Linked DNA regions of Homo sapiens: regions 1, 2, 4 and 5 are each linked to region 3. Evidence: promoter capture Hi-C in 16 types of primary human blood cells and fetal thymus (Javierre and others, 2016). All regions are on one chromosome and are shown on one strand. The core of a region is centred on a gene start or on the middle of the fragment in contact, and the rest is flanking DNA. Distances in the headings are between cores, read along the strand shown.

Evidence for each region. Contacts are between HindIII fragments. The CHiCAGO score rates a contact against its expected background, and 5 or more counts as called.
Region 1: a contact is called between the fragment with the promoter of ZNF283 here and the fragment with the promoter of ZNF527 in region 3, in 9 of 17 cell types (non-activated CD4 T cells, naive CD8 T cells, total B cells and 6 more). The highest score is 24.0, in non-activated CD4 T cells.
Region 2: a contact is called between a fragment that was not itself captured here and the fragment with the promoter of ZNF527 in region 3, in 2 of 17 cell types (activated CD4 T cells and naive CD8 T cells). The highest score is 6.0, in activated CD4 T cells.
Region 4: a contact is called between a fragment that was not itself captured here and the fragment with the promoter of ZNF527 in region 3, in 5 of 17 cell types (total CD4 T cells, naive CD4 T cells, total CD8 T cells and 2 more). The highest score is 8.8, in total CD4 T cells.
Region 5: the fragment with the promoter of ZNF224 here is called in contact with the fragment with the promoter of ZNF527 in region 3 in 9 of 17 cell types (non-activated CD4 T cells, total CD4 T cells, total B cells and 6 more); the score reaches 30.4 in non-activated CD4 T cells.

What each region holds. Positions count from the first base shown.
Region 1 is chr19:43,825,915-43,828,759 of GRCh38, reverse strand. ZNF283 (zinc finger protein 283) reads right to left here and starts at 1,439. Exons shown (of 7, transcript NM_181845.2): 1 at 1,316-1,439; 2 at 479-558. RefSeq lists an enhancer at 1,382-1,581. The HindIII fragment of the contact is 6,325 bases long and covers 1-2,845 here.
Region 2 is chr19:44,149,302-44,152,001 of GRCh38, reverse strand. ZNF234 (zinc finger protein 234) reads right to left here. Exons shown (of 6, transcript NM_006630.3): 5 at 1,497-1,589. Among named protein-coding and RNA genes, the nearest start is that of ZNF234, 9.1 kb to the right of the region's middle. The HindIII fragment of the contact is 470 bases long and covers 1,072-1,541 here.
Region 3 is chr19:37,369,616-37,372,375 of GRCh38, reverse strand. It overlaps ZNF527 (zinc finger protein 527), which reads right to left and starts at 1,277. Exons shown (of 5, transcript NM_032453.2): 1 at 1,150-1,277. RefSeq lists a silencer at 878-1,187 and enhancers at 1,218-1,527, 1,698-1,747, 1,768-1,907. The HindIII fragment of the contact is 7,295 bases long and covers 1-2,760 here.
Region 4 is chr19:44,301,939-44,304,638 of GRCh38, reverse strand. ZNF235 (zinc finger protein 235) reads left to right here. Exons shown (of 5, transcript NM_004234.4): 2 at 1,187-1,249. The coding sequence starts at 1,235. Among named protein-coding and RNA genes, the nearest start is that of ZNF235, 1.7 kb to the left of the region's middle. The HindIII fragment of the contact is 2,785 bases long and covers 48-2,700 here.
Region 5 is chr19:44,092,921-44,095,620 of GRCh38, reverse strand. ZNF224 (zinc finger protein 224) reads right to left here and starts at 1,260. Exons shown (of 6, transcript NM_001321645.3): 1 at 1,091-1,260. RefSeq lists an enhancer at 1,341-1,450. The HindIII fragment of the contact is 10,144 bases long and covers 1-2,700 here.

The DNA.
Region 1 (2,845 bases), core at 190-2,689, 6.5 Mb before region 3:
CACCTGAGCCCAGGACTTCAAGGTTGCACTGAGCTATGACTATACTACTGCACTCAGCCTGGGCAACAGAGTGAGACCTTGTCTCTAAAAAAAGTTAAAAAAAAATTTTAATTATGACTACAGAAAAGATAAAAAATAATGTTTATATAACACCACCTAATTACTAATCTCTTCAAATAATCATAGTATAAAATAATGCTCTAATAGCAATCTACAAGAGGTGCCTTTCTATAACTCTTCAGTGCATCATAATGCACTGAAGTATTTGAACAATTTGCCATATGAACAGGTGGGTAAGAATTGTGGAGAAGAACAATAGGGGGCCACTGGGAGGAAATATGTACCAGCATGGCGGGTCATGTAACTGGGAAAACCCAGTCAAGATATTTCAGGCCAAGGAAAGAAAATGTTCTCATGACCTAGAAGCAAAGGTAATTGTATGTGTATGTATTTAAAAAGTATGTATAAAAAACCTCACCTGAACCTTGATTTCTAAACATGCAAAAATCCTTTTCTCCTCTTCAAACTCCTTCTTAGAAATCTGGCAACCTGGCAGCACTGGGGGAAAAAACAGTAACATGAGACATCAGCATTTCTAGCGCGTCACAGACTTAATTAAAAAAGAAAAAGAAGAGCAAAACACCCTCTGGGGCCACTTCTGCCTTCATCCACACAAAACCAAACGGAATGAAAAGGGAGGCTAGAGTCTGTCTCTGTGTTGAGGGCAATTCTTGGGGACAGAGGTCTGCTTGCAATGGCTCTGAAACATGTAGCTCACCACCAAAGAGCTCCTAGAGGCCCCTCTTCTAGGAATCCCACCTCTAGAACTTCCCCATCAGGTCTTGACAAGATCCTGTCCCGCGGACACTTCCAGATCTAAAATTCTCATCCTTCTTGCTTGAAACGTTCATTATGGGGCTTAGCATAGACTTCTTTCTTGCGGTCATTTAATTGTGGCAGGCCCGAAGACAGGCTAAAGGGAACCTAGAGCATTTGGTCAAAGCAAATCACATTTACAAATACGGCCACGCACCCTGTCAGCCCGTCACACATTCACAACTGCACCCACCTCCGTGGGGACACGCCCCGTCCCTGCCACGCCGTCTGAGACACACTGTCCCTCGGCTGCTCGCGTGCACACAGGCTTGAGGATCCGGACACGACACGCTCTGTCCGTGACCCAGCCCTCCCCACCTCCAGCACCCCCGATGCCACCCCCACCCTCACTGCCGGTTCCAGTCGGGCCCCAGTAAAGCCAGCCGAGCCCTCCCAGCTTCACCCGGGCTGATTACTTCTACAGACACGACCAACTCACCATGCAGAGTCCAAGAACCTTAAGGACACCGGAAAAGGACCCAGAGACCTGTGGTTAGTTTGGACCCAGAGGCTGATGGGAAACAAGAGCCTGGAAATGCTCGCAGGCTGGGAGAGGAGCTTCTGGCAGGCAAGCTCGCCCCGCCCCTAAAAGGCCTGTGCCCCGGAGACTTCTGGGAAATGTAGTCCACAGCGGCAGAGTCTCCGGAAGTTGAAACCTGGACAGCAGGGATGCTCCCAGCATGCAACTTGGCTTCACCTGTCAAAGGCGCTTTTTTCGAAGACGCCCGGGAGCTCTTGCTTTTGCTTGAGGGTCTTTGGTGTTGACTGAGAGCGAATTAAAAGGTTCTCAGCTTTCGCTAAGGAACGCATTCTGGAGTCTAGAACAGGCGAAGATGGGACTGGGGTGTCTGGGGACTTAGACGTGAGCGAGCAAGGGAATCCGGGGTAAGTTCGCTGGAAATGACCTGCGCGACACTACCAGTTTACCTGGGTATGAGCGCCTGGAACAGTGTCTGGCAATTGAACAGATGGGTGTGTCTTGCTGTGAGGGAGTTTCTTAGTTCGATTCGGTGTCTGGGACCCTGCGTGGACCTGTTTATGTTCATGGGATGTTTTCTAAATTTATGCCTGTGTGAGTCTGTTTTATTAGGTGTGAGATGAACTGTGTTACAGATTTTATATGCCGCTGTTGAAAGACAACAATAAGTGGTAGTGAGTGGATATTGTGACCGTGGAGACTTATGGCAGTGCAAAGGCGGCCATAAACAATGCACAAGCAATCCAGCATGGCTGTGTTCCAATAAAACTTGATGGATTATAAAATTTGAATCTCATTTTTTATAGAGTATGAAACCATTTATTCTGAAGCACACACTCATACTCCAAAAACAATACTATATATTCCCTCTCTCTCTCTCCTGTGTGTTTGCGTGTGTGTGTGTGTGGGTGTGTGAGAGAGAGAAAGGTTTTAAAGGAGACAACTAACTGATTCTGAGGTTAGGGCAAAAAGATTGGGGCTGTGGTTGGTGTGGTAAGAACCTTTGGATATAAATACTTTTTTAAAAAAGAATTGTCTAAAAATATTAAAGCGAAATTTTATATTAAAACTAACAGAAAGAAAAGGAAGTTACTTTTTAGGGGCTCTTTCTGGTCACTGATATCACCTCTCTCATCCTCTGCCATCTCTCACCTCCTGGTCTCTCTTGCTTATCAAGAGAAGACTAGAGCTCTTGGATCCCAGCTTTTCCCCTGCCTCAGCTGAGGCCACTACCCTGGTTGACTCCCATGGTGACATGGATGCCTCATCCAGTATCGTGGGTCTGAGTCCTCATCTGCAGGGTCCTTGAGCTTTCCTCGGCACCCATCCCCGTTTCCCATCTGGGACTTCATTATCATCAGCATCTGCTCCACCTCCAAAACCACTGGTGGAAGCAGCCTCCTCTCTTCCCATGTTACTTGCTCAATGACTCCCACAAGTACTACTCTGAATATTTTGGGGGTCTGATTTTTTTTTAATTTTTTATTTCCA
Region 2 (2,700 bases), core at 57-2,556, 6.8 Mb before region 3:
CTGTAGTTGGCAGAATAATCAACCCCCAAAGAATCCACGTTCTAATTCTCATCCTAAGAATATGTCAGGTTATGACAAAGGGTAATTAAGGTTGCAGAGGGAATTAAGGTTGCAAATCAGCTGAACTAAAAATAGAAGGCAATTCTACATTATCCAAGTGGGCCCAGTGCAATTAGAGGGTCCTTATAAAGTGGAAAAAGGATGAAGAGAGAATAAAAGGGAAATGCAACTATAGAAGAATGATCAGAGAAGCACTGTTGCTGGCTGTGAAGAGGGCCACAAGCTATGAAATTTGGCAGCCCCTACACACTGATAAGGGAACGATACAGATTCTCCTTCCCTAGAGCCTCCGGGAAGAAACAGGGACGGGCTGACAGCTTGATTTCAGCGTAGTGAGACCCATGTTGGACTTCAAACAAAGAACTGAAAGACAATACATTTTTATCATTTAATCCACTCAGTTTGGGGTAATATGTTACAGCAGCAGTAAGAAATGCAGTGTCCAGGTCGGGCACAGTGGCTCATGCCTGTAATCCCAGCACTTTGGGAGGCTGAGGCAGGCGGGTCACTTGAGGTCAGGAGACCAGCCTGGCCAACATGGTGAAACCCTGTCTCTATAAAAAATACAAAAATCCGCCGGACGTGGTTACAGGCACCTGTAATCCCAGCTACTTGGGAGGCTGAGGCAGAAGAATCGCTTGAACCTGGGAGGCGGAGGTGGCAGTGAGCTGAGATTGCACCACTATACTCCAGCCTGGGCGACAGAGCGAGCAATGTCCTTACCAGGTCTGGGAAATAGCAGGGAGGATGATGTGGCTGGAAAAGATGGAGCAAGAGGTAGAATACAGGAGATGTAGTCAGAGACGCAGAGGAGGATGAACAGCAGACCACGCAGGACTCTATAAGCTCCTTTAAGAGACTTCAACTTTAAGAAAAATAAGAAGCCATTCAGAGTATTTTTTTTTTTTTTAAGATGGAGTGTCGCTCTGTTGCCCAGGCTGGAGTGTAGCGGTGCGATCTTGGCTCACTGCAACCTGCCTCTTGGGTTCAAGCGATTCTCCTGTCTAAGCTTCCTGAGTAGCTGGGACTACAGGCGCTGGCCACCACGCCTGGCTAATTTTTGTATTTTTAGTAGAGACGAGGTTTTGCCATGTTAGCCAGGCTGGTCTCAAACTCCTGATCCTCCTGCTTTGGCCCCCAAAGTGCTGGATTACAGGCATGAGCCACTGTGCCCAGCCCTGTACAAGGTCTTAAGTAGAGGAATGGCAATCTGACTTACATTTCCAAAGGATCACTTTAGCTATGATATGGAGAACGCCTGTAGGAGAACATACTTTATACTATTGAGGGTGGATGCAGTGCGCCCAGTACGAAGGCTGTTGCAATCATCCAGGACAGAGGTTTGGCAATTTGGACCCGATGGCAGCAAGAGCAGGGGAGAGAAGTACAACAGATGGACAATCACGTACAAGGACTCTTAGCTGCTTGGTTCTTACCTGATTTCCCTTTTCTTTGAGTTGCTGTCTTCATTATATCAAGCTTTTTTTCCTTTTCTAAAAGGAATACATCATGTTTGAAGGGGTGATGCCCTAGAACACGCAAAGTCACATATTTAAAACAAACACACTAAAGGTACAACTGAACTTACTGGCAATTTGAATTACTACTGTATACTGATCAATCAATCAAAAGTAGTGTTTTCAAACACTTTTAGAAGAACCTAATGAAGAAATATCAGTATTTCAAGATCCAGACACATAGACATAAATATGTGCTATAAAAACCTATTTCTGAAAGGAGTTAGTTCGCTTGCCTTAGGTAGACAGCAAGGGAAGGGTCTTTGGAGAGCCCCTGACCCATGGGTTAGTGTCTTATTTTTATATAACATAAAAAGCAGCCTGGAAAAAAAATTTAAGCTGCAGGCACCAATAAGGGAACTACCACAGGGTGTTGTGCCTGGAGACATGCCCACGGCTGCACAGATAGAAAAACCTCCAGCCCATTTGGATAAAAGCTTGTACATACCTCCAGCTCGCTCAGATAAAGGAGCAAGGCCTGGCATAAGAATGCCTTTGTCCTCTGTATAGTCAGCGGGCTCCCAGGAAAAGGTTTCTTCTCCTTTTGTGGGCATAGGTACAGTGGGCTCCAGTGGGTTCCAGTGGGCACTCTACTTTCTTTTTTTCAAACTGTAAGTCCGGTCTCTATATATCTTTACTTCAACCTGATTGGTCCTGGGCCAAGGTTCCGGGCCAAGCTAAGTCACACTTTCTCCAAAATAGCCCACAAACTAAGCACATTCCTTCCCCTTCCCAGTCCATAAAAACCCCAAACCCCTGCCTCATAGGGGGAATTCCATTTGGGTCCCCCTCTCTGCTGGCAAAAAGCTTTCTTCTTTTGCTTATTAAACCTTCACTCTAACCTCACATTTCTGTCTGCACTCATTAATCTTCTTAAAAATAAAACAAAAAACTCCAGGTGTTATCTCAAACAACAGAAAAACTGTTACATCTTGGTGCATTACTAAAATTACATTTCTAACCAATGTCTTTTTTTTTTGAGACAGTCTCACTCTGTCACCCAGGCTGGAGTGCAGTGGCGTGATCTAGGCTCACTACAACCTCTGCCTCCTGGATTCAAGCGATTCTCATGCCTCAGCCTCCCAAGTAGGTGGGATAAGAGGCATGCACCACCACACCTGGT
Region 3 (2,760 bases), core at 28-2,527:
ACTTTGCACTAGGCAACTCAGTCCCTAGCAGTTATTTCCTTAGTGTAGTGCAGCTTGAAATTGTCCATAAAAACTGCAGCAGGGCGCAGCGCCTCACGCCTGTAATCCCAGCACTGTGGGAGGCTCTGGTGGGCGGATCATGAGGTCAGGAGTTGGAGACCAGCCTGGCCAAACATGGTGAAACCTCGTCTCTACTAAAAATACAAAAACTAGCTGGGCGTGGTGGTGCGCGCCTGTAATCCCAGCTACTTGGGAGGCTGAGGCAGGAGAATCACTTGAACCTGGGAGGCGGAGGTTGCAGTGAGCCGAGATCGCATCATTGCACTCCAGCCTGGGCAATAGAGTGAGACTCCATCTCAAGAGAAAAAAAAAAAAAAAAGCGAGACCTCTAGAGCTAAACTGCTTGGGTTTGAGTTCTGGTGCTGTCACTTGTTAACTGTGTGAACTTGGGTAATTCTAATATTTCTGTGCTTCATACATCAATCCCACAATCTCATATATACACACAAATTCTCACCCAATCACAAATGTATAGAGTCACACAAACACACCCATAATCTCACACAATACACAGCCACATAAGCACAAAGATAGATGGTAACATACAACTACACCAACAGAGATAAACAATCACACACAATCACACACAAAGTAGCATACCACAGAAGTCACACATCTTGTCACAATTACTGATACAAAACTATACCTGCGGAGACAGATGGTCATAGTCGCACAATCACACTTGCTGTCACACACATTCAAACGCAATTGTATCCGCAGAAACAGGTGGTCACATAACCACACACATGCATTTACACAAACACACAATGTCACACCCCAGTCTCTCATAAACACATACACAGCTACACCTGCAGAGACAGTCACACACAAACACACATATTCACAGTTTCACCCCCAGACACAGATGGTTACAGTCACACACAAGCGGGCGCACGCGCACAAACACACACACACAGTGACACAAGATCACATTCTGTCACACCCGCAGCCTGTCACATAGTTGGTAATACAGTGAAACACACACGGCCTCCCCAGCGACTCCTGCCGGGTTCCCATCCCTGGCGCGGCCGGGCCACCCGGAGCCCGCCCTTGACTTCCCGCTCCCGCCCGGGGCCCGGCCCCACTCACCTCCCGGCGCCGCGGGCTCTGCAAACGGGCCCCGCGACCGAGACCCGCGACGTCACCTCCCAGAATCCTCCGCGAGGAGGAGCGAGGCGAGGACTGAGGCATGCAGGACTCTGAGCTCTGCGAGATCTGAACCAGCGACACCGCGTTCCCCATGGACCCCGCGAACCACGAGCCCCAGAACGCTTTGCGCCACGGCCGTCATCGTTGAACTACATCTCCCAGAGAACCCCGCGGCCCCCTCCACTGCGCGCCTGCGCCACGGGGGCAGGTACCGGAGAGGGCTGTGTGCGGTCGTAGGCTCTCCAGTGACCTTGAGCTGCTGTGTTGGGGAAAGCGGCCAGGCTGCGCGCGGGGCTGACTGGTTGAATGCTTGGGTGTGGTGGTTCGTGTGTGACTGTTGCTGCACACCTTTATGCTTGCCGACGAAAGGAGCGGCGGATTTTGTCAGTGCAGGGAGCTTCTGTATTTTAAATCACGTCCCGTGATTGTGGGTAGCTGAATGTGAAAGTGATTGTGGATGAAAGAGACTGTGGCTGACATTGGGGGTGACCGTTTCTGTTACTGTGAGGATACCACTGATCCGATGTGTATCTGACTGTCTCCTGGTCTTACTGTTCCTTCACCCCCATCTCCTGCCATGGGCGGGGTCTGTGGTATCTTTTATTGAGGCAATCTCGGCGCTCACTGCAACCTCCGCCTCCCGGGTTCAAGCGATTCTCTTGCCTCAGCCTCCTGAGGAGCTGGGATTACAGGCACCTGCCACCACGCCCAGCTAATTTTTGTATTTTTAGTAGGGATGGGGTTTCACCATGTTGGCCAGGATGGTCTTCATCTCCTGAACTTGTGATCCACCTGCCTCGGCCTCCCCAAGTGCTGGGGTTACAGGCATGAGCCATCGCACCCGGCCTATTTTATTATTATTATTATTTCTCAATTGGTCAAAATAATATATTTAACATTTTAATATTATTAAACATACAAAAGGCCACACTTTGGCCCTCCTCTAGTCAAGCAGTTTCCTTCCTGGTGAAAGTCCATAGGCAGAAACATGCCTGCAAAGATCTCACAACCTTCTTTCAGACCATGCTCTGGGTATCCAAATCCCCAGGATTTCCTGTTCAAATGGACTCCAGCCTGCTTCCAGAGCCTGTATCTCCTCTGTGTCCAAAGACCCTTCCCTTGATCTGTCTTCCAAAGGTGGAATGTGCTGCCTATCCACAAAATGTGGCCAAATGAGAGCAATTTGGTAAGGCTAGACAGAGCTTAGATATGCAAGCTGGAGTGTCCACATGTGGGAATAGAAGACCTCTTACGATGTGGGACAAGGATGGCAGTGGGAACAGAAGGGGACTGGCTGGGGACCTCCATCTGTACTGTTGACCCAGGTCTCTACATGTCAATGACAGGCTCATTTATGTATAAACTATTTTGGAGACCAATGGTCTTATGATGATGGTGGTTTGAATTAGGGTCATCACTGGAAGAGGCAATGAGAAATTGTCAGATTGGGATACAGTTTGAGTGTAGAACTAACAGAAGTTGCTGATGCTTGGTTGTGAATATAGGGAAAGAGAGAAGTTCAATATAATGCCTAAATGTCTTGAGCCCCTG
Region 4 (2,700 bases), core at 191-2,690, 6.9 Mb before region 3:
CAGTGATGTTCTTGTGAGAATTAAATGAGGTTTTATAGAAATAAGCTTAAAACCAGTGCATAGGAAAATGTTGGATGCCACCGTTAATTCTGTTATAATACTGAAAAAGACGCCTGTTGTTTGGAAACTCCTCTGAGTCTAGGAGATCCAGCTACGGAGCCGCTGTCCCTTCTCTAATCCTTGCCTGATGTGGGGCCGTTCCTGGATTCTTGGACTTTTCTAGCCTCTTGTTTAGGAGACAGGAATTAGTTCCAGCGGAGCCTGGGGAATGTCCTGTGTGTTTTATCTCAGATAAGCGATCGTCATTACGGATTTGCAGAGTGCCAGAGGTGTCCTGAGGCCCTAATAAATGTTCAGTATAATGTGGTTATAACCAATAATCCCGTGTGGTTAACTTAAGTGTAACACCATTTCTTAGAGAGTTTTAGGTTTTTATTAGTCATTGCTTTCATGCATGTGGAAAAAGAGACTTTCTTGAGGCTCCTCCAGCTTAGTAACATTTGCAAGTAATTACATCTGTTGGAGGAAAAAAAAACCTGTGGCAGTTTAACTATCATTACCAACGGAACTAATTATGTTAGACAACCAATCACAGTTACAGACTTTTCTGAGGGTAATGGTAACTCACAGGACAGAGCAATTATTTTTGAGTTCTGGGTTTCTTAAAAGATTCATTTTCTAGAAAGCATACTCAAAAGGGCAGTTTTATGAAGCATAATAGCACTTGCTTGTCAGAAGCTGCAGGAAATAGAGAATACAGGCATTATTATTGTCCCCATTCACAGGTAACTGAATTAAGGCACAGAGAGATTAATAATTCGCTTAAGGTTTATACTGCTGATCAGTTGAAAATAGGTAGAAATGCCAAAATTTGAAGCCAGGCATTTTGGCTCTGTTACATTCCCCTGCCTGTCTGTGTCTCATTTCCTTGGAAACTAAAGTTCAGAAGGAGTACACAGAGAGCTGTATTTGATTTAGGTCTGTTAATATGAAATGTTCATGAACAAAAGCAGCTGGTTGAGGGGGCCGAGGGGTAGCTGGGAGCTAGCTCCCGTTCTCCTCACTAAGCCGTGTGCAACTGTGTCTGCCTAGAGACAGGGGGACCTTTCTCTGAAGTGTCACATAAAAGTGCCATGGTGACTAATGCCATCCCTAACCTATCTCATGATGCCTTTCCCTCCCTCAGGTTCACTTCCCCGGAACTCTGCCTTTTCCCAGAAGGAGGAGGGGAAAAATGACCAAGTTCCAGGTAAGTTTGGTTTGCCTTTGTGTTTCTTAAAATGACATCTCATTTCACAAAGATTGGACACATTTTTCCTGTTTGGGAACAGTAAAAGGGAACGAAAGGCACTTGGAATGTTGTTATATGCCAGGTTGTTGCCTTTTATTTCAATATAATAGTATAAAAATTAACAGAGAGATATATATATATCTGTTAATTTCTAAAATATATTTCTATATAATTATATATTTATATATACGTATATATTTTATATTTATATACAAATATATATGTATATATTTATAAGAAATATACGTATATTTGTATATATGTATTATATATACAAATATATACGTATATTTTATATAAATGTATACAATATATACGTATATTTTATATAAATATATACGTATATATGTATATATTTATATATAAATATATACATATATACGTATATATTTATATATACAAATATGTATATATAAATACATACAAATATATACGTATATATTTATATACAAATATGTATATATAAACACATACAAATATATATAAGTATATATTTACTCATATATAAGTATATAGTTATATATATATAAGTATATATATACTCATATATAAGTATATAGTTTTATATATATATATATATGTAAATATAAATCTCTATATATATTTAGAGACAGAGTCTCACCCTGTTTCCCAGGCTGGAGTGCAGTGGCTCACTGCAGCCTGGGCCTGGGCTCAAGAGATCCTCCCACCTTAGCCTCTTGAGCAGGTGGGACCACGGGCACACACCAGCACAACCAGCTAATTATTTTTAGTAGAGATGGGGTGTTCCTGTGTTTCCCAGGCTGGTCTTGAACTTCTGGGCTTAAGAGATCCTCCTGCCGTGGCCTAACAGATATATTTTTTAAATGGAAAACAACTCTCACATTACAAATATGTTTACAAATCATTTCCCACATTCCTTTTCATTTGCACTCAACATATATAATCATACTTTAGGTACAATTTCGAATTTTTTAAATTTAATTTTATATCACCTGCTTTTTAAATGATCACATCATTTTCCATCATTTACTTGTTTTTATTTTTCCTCATTCTCCATGTTTATGTAATCTATGAATTTTGCCATTTTAAGGACATTGACAATAGCAGTTTTTCCCCATGTAACTTCTCTTCCCAAATAAGGATTCTGAGAATTCTACCATTTTTTTAATCTTTAAAGTTTTAGACTCATTTTCTCATACACAGCACCTCATTTTATGGAGAGAATAAAGTATAGCTTAGTGCAGTAGCATCTGACTGATGCCAAACTCAGAGAAAGTAATTTTAGTTTCAAACGAGCTAGATTTCTTTCTTTAATTCTAAGTAAAACCTTGTATTATAGTTAAGTATCTGTTTTATTCATTAACATGTTATTATATTTTAAAGATGCACATACTTAGTTTAAAAGTCTTATAGCACTAGGAGATTCA
Region 5 (2,700 bases), core at 11-2,510, 6.7 Mb before region 3:
GAAAAATAGAATGCTGTACAATGACATGGTTCTATAAGAATACAAAATATTTGTAATGATTGAAACAAAATAGTTGACAACATTTTTAGAAACTCAGAAAATTTCAAGCCCCTAAGTCTTGCTTTCCCCACCTAAGTCCAACTAGTTCCTCTGCCTCAGTGACAACGTATCCCAAGAGAAGATCAAATCAGGCTCTGACCCAGACTGCTTAGGTTCCAACCCCAGCTCCACCTCTCACTAGTCGGGTGCCTATGCGCTCTGTGTCTCACTTTCGTTTTTAAAATAGAAAAAAGCAATACTTCTCCACAGAGCCACGGTGTGGCGTAAATTTATTTGTATAAAGCCCTTAGAATGAAGTTACTAATTAAGACTTAATTATTATCGACCCCCATGCCCGAGGACACAACCTATACACTCTCGGTTGGGGTGAGCATCTCGGTCAAAGAGCCAAGGACCACTCACGTAGAGCTTTGCCCTCAGAAGCCAAGAAGTCCCTCCCTGCAGCTCTTCTGGAAAGGTCGGGTTGGGGAACGAGAAAGCTGTGAAACACCTTGACCGCGTCGCCGTCCCCCATAAAAGTTAAATGCTCCTTTCCCTTCATGAAAGTGGACGCAACCCTCGCTCTCCTAAAAAGAGGTCAGAAGGCTTCCGGGATCATCCAGCGTCCTGCAGGGATCAGGGAGAAGGGCCGAGGCCCCTGCAGCTGGAGCTCTGACCCCACCCGGTCCTTCGTGGGAAATTAACAAGAGACCACCAGTCACCAAGTGACAGGGACTGCTTTAAGGCTCTCATTTGTGTTACCTCTTCCAGTTCCCAAAACGATTCCATTAGGATGGCCCTAAAGTCCCCATTTTAAAGAACAGTAACGGGAAACCCAAGGAGATTAACACCCCAACGTTATATCGAGAAGAAGTGGCCACGCGCGTGGGGTGCAGGGGGCGGAGTGGGCGAGCTCAGAGCCCCGGAAACCCTGAAACCAGGTGAGACGCGACCCAACCAAGTACCAATGCCCCCGGGAAGCGAGGACAGACCCAAGCCCAAGAAGGTGCCACGGACGAGAACGCAAACAGCGGCCCTTGCCCCTCCAAACCTCTACTCTCCGACGAGGCCCCTTTTCCCCTAATTCGATCACCAGTTCTTTGAGGATCCAATGCGTAGGTCCAGGAAATTCAGAAGGGCCTGCAACGCGCGGAACTGCCCCAAACTATCGCGGAAAAACTGCAGCAACCTCAGTCCCCGAGCGGAAGTGTCCGCGACTCCACCGAATGTTTGGACTCCACTTCCCAGAATTCCCCGGGACCCGCCAGCCGGAGCCAAACTGACCGCGACTCCACTGAGCGTCTGGACTACACTTCCCAGAATTCCCTGGGACCCAACTGCCGGAGCTAAACCGACCGCGATTCCACTGAGGGTCTGGACTGTACTCCTGCAGCATTACACTCAAAGGGAAGTGTTGACGACTACTGGGAAGCCCTTGACCACTCTTCCCACGGGGAACGAATCTCGTACCCCCGAGCGCCTGTTGGGAAATGTGGACTTCTACCCTGAGAGTCGTCCTTCCCTCTCCCTGGGTGCCTAAGAGAAAATACCGTATAGAAAGGAATTCCTGAAGTCTAAACCCCTCTAGTGAGGACAGGAGTGTTACTGGAAAGGGAACAAGCGAGATGATACACTCTTCAAATAAGTTTTGCCAGTGGTAAGAAATGGCATGTAGTTTTAATTTATAACTCTTGTAAAGATGGCATATTCTTGCATATTTTCAGGTGTCATTATTACATTTTTTGTAAATTGTCCAGATGTTTTGCCCACTTTCTTATTGAGTTTTTGGTTTTATCCCTCACTTTTCAAGCACTGTTCTTATATTCATGATATTAACATTTTATCTCGCAAATATTTTCTCAACAAAAACGTTTTTTTTTATTGTTTTATCTATGCAAAACATTTTAATGTATTTTATTATTTAAAACATCTCTATTGAGGTGTAATGCACAAAACGTGAAATTCACCATTTTAGGATATATGTAGTACAAATAAAAAGTTAGGAAACATTTTCATCACCCCAAAAACCCCATACCCACTAAGCAGTCACTGTCTAACACTAATCTCTGTCCTATTGAATTACCTATTGTGGACATTTCATATAAATGGAATTATACATTATGGAACCTTTTGTTTCTGACACCTTTCACTTAGCATCCTGCTTCTTTTTTTTTTTTTTGAGACGGAATCTCAAAAAAAGTGCCAGGCTGGAGTGCAGTGGCACGATCTTAGCTCACTGCAACCTCCGCCTCCCGGGTTCAAGCGATTCTCCTGTCTCAGCCTCCCGAGTAGCTGGGACTACAGGCGCGTGCCACCACGCCTGGCTAATTTTTCTGTATTTTTAGTAGAGACGGGGTTTCACCGTGTTAGCCAGGATGGTCTCGATCTCTTGACCTCGTGATCCTCCCGCCTCGGCCTCCCAAAGTGCTGGGATTACAGGCGTGAGCCACCGCGCCCTGCCAGCATACTGCTTTTAAAGTTCATCCACATCACAGCATGTACCAGTACTTCATAATATTTTATGTTTCTACTACGATTTGTTTTTTTTGTTTGCTTTGTCTTGTTTTGTTTTGAGGTGGGGTTTCCCTCTTGATGCCCAGGCTGGAGTGCAATGGCACGATCTCAGCTCACTGCAACCCCCGCCTCCTGGGTTAAAACGAT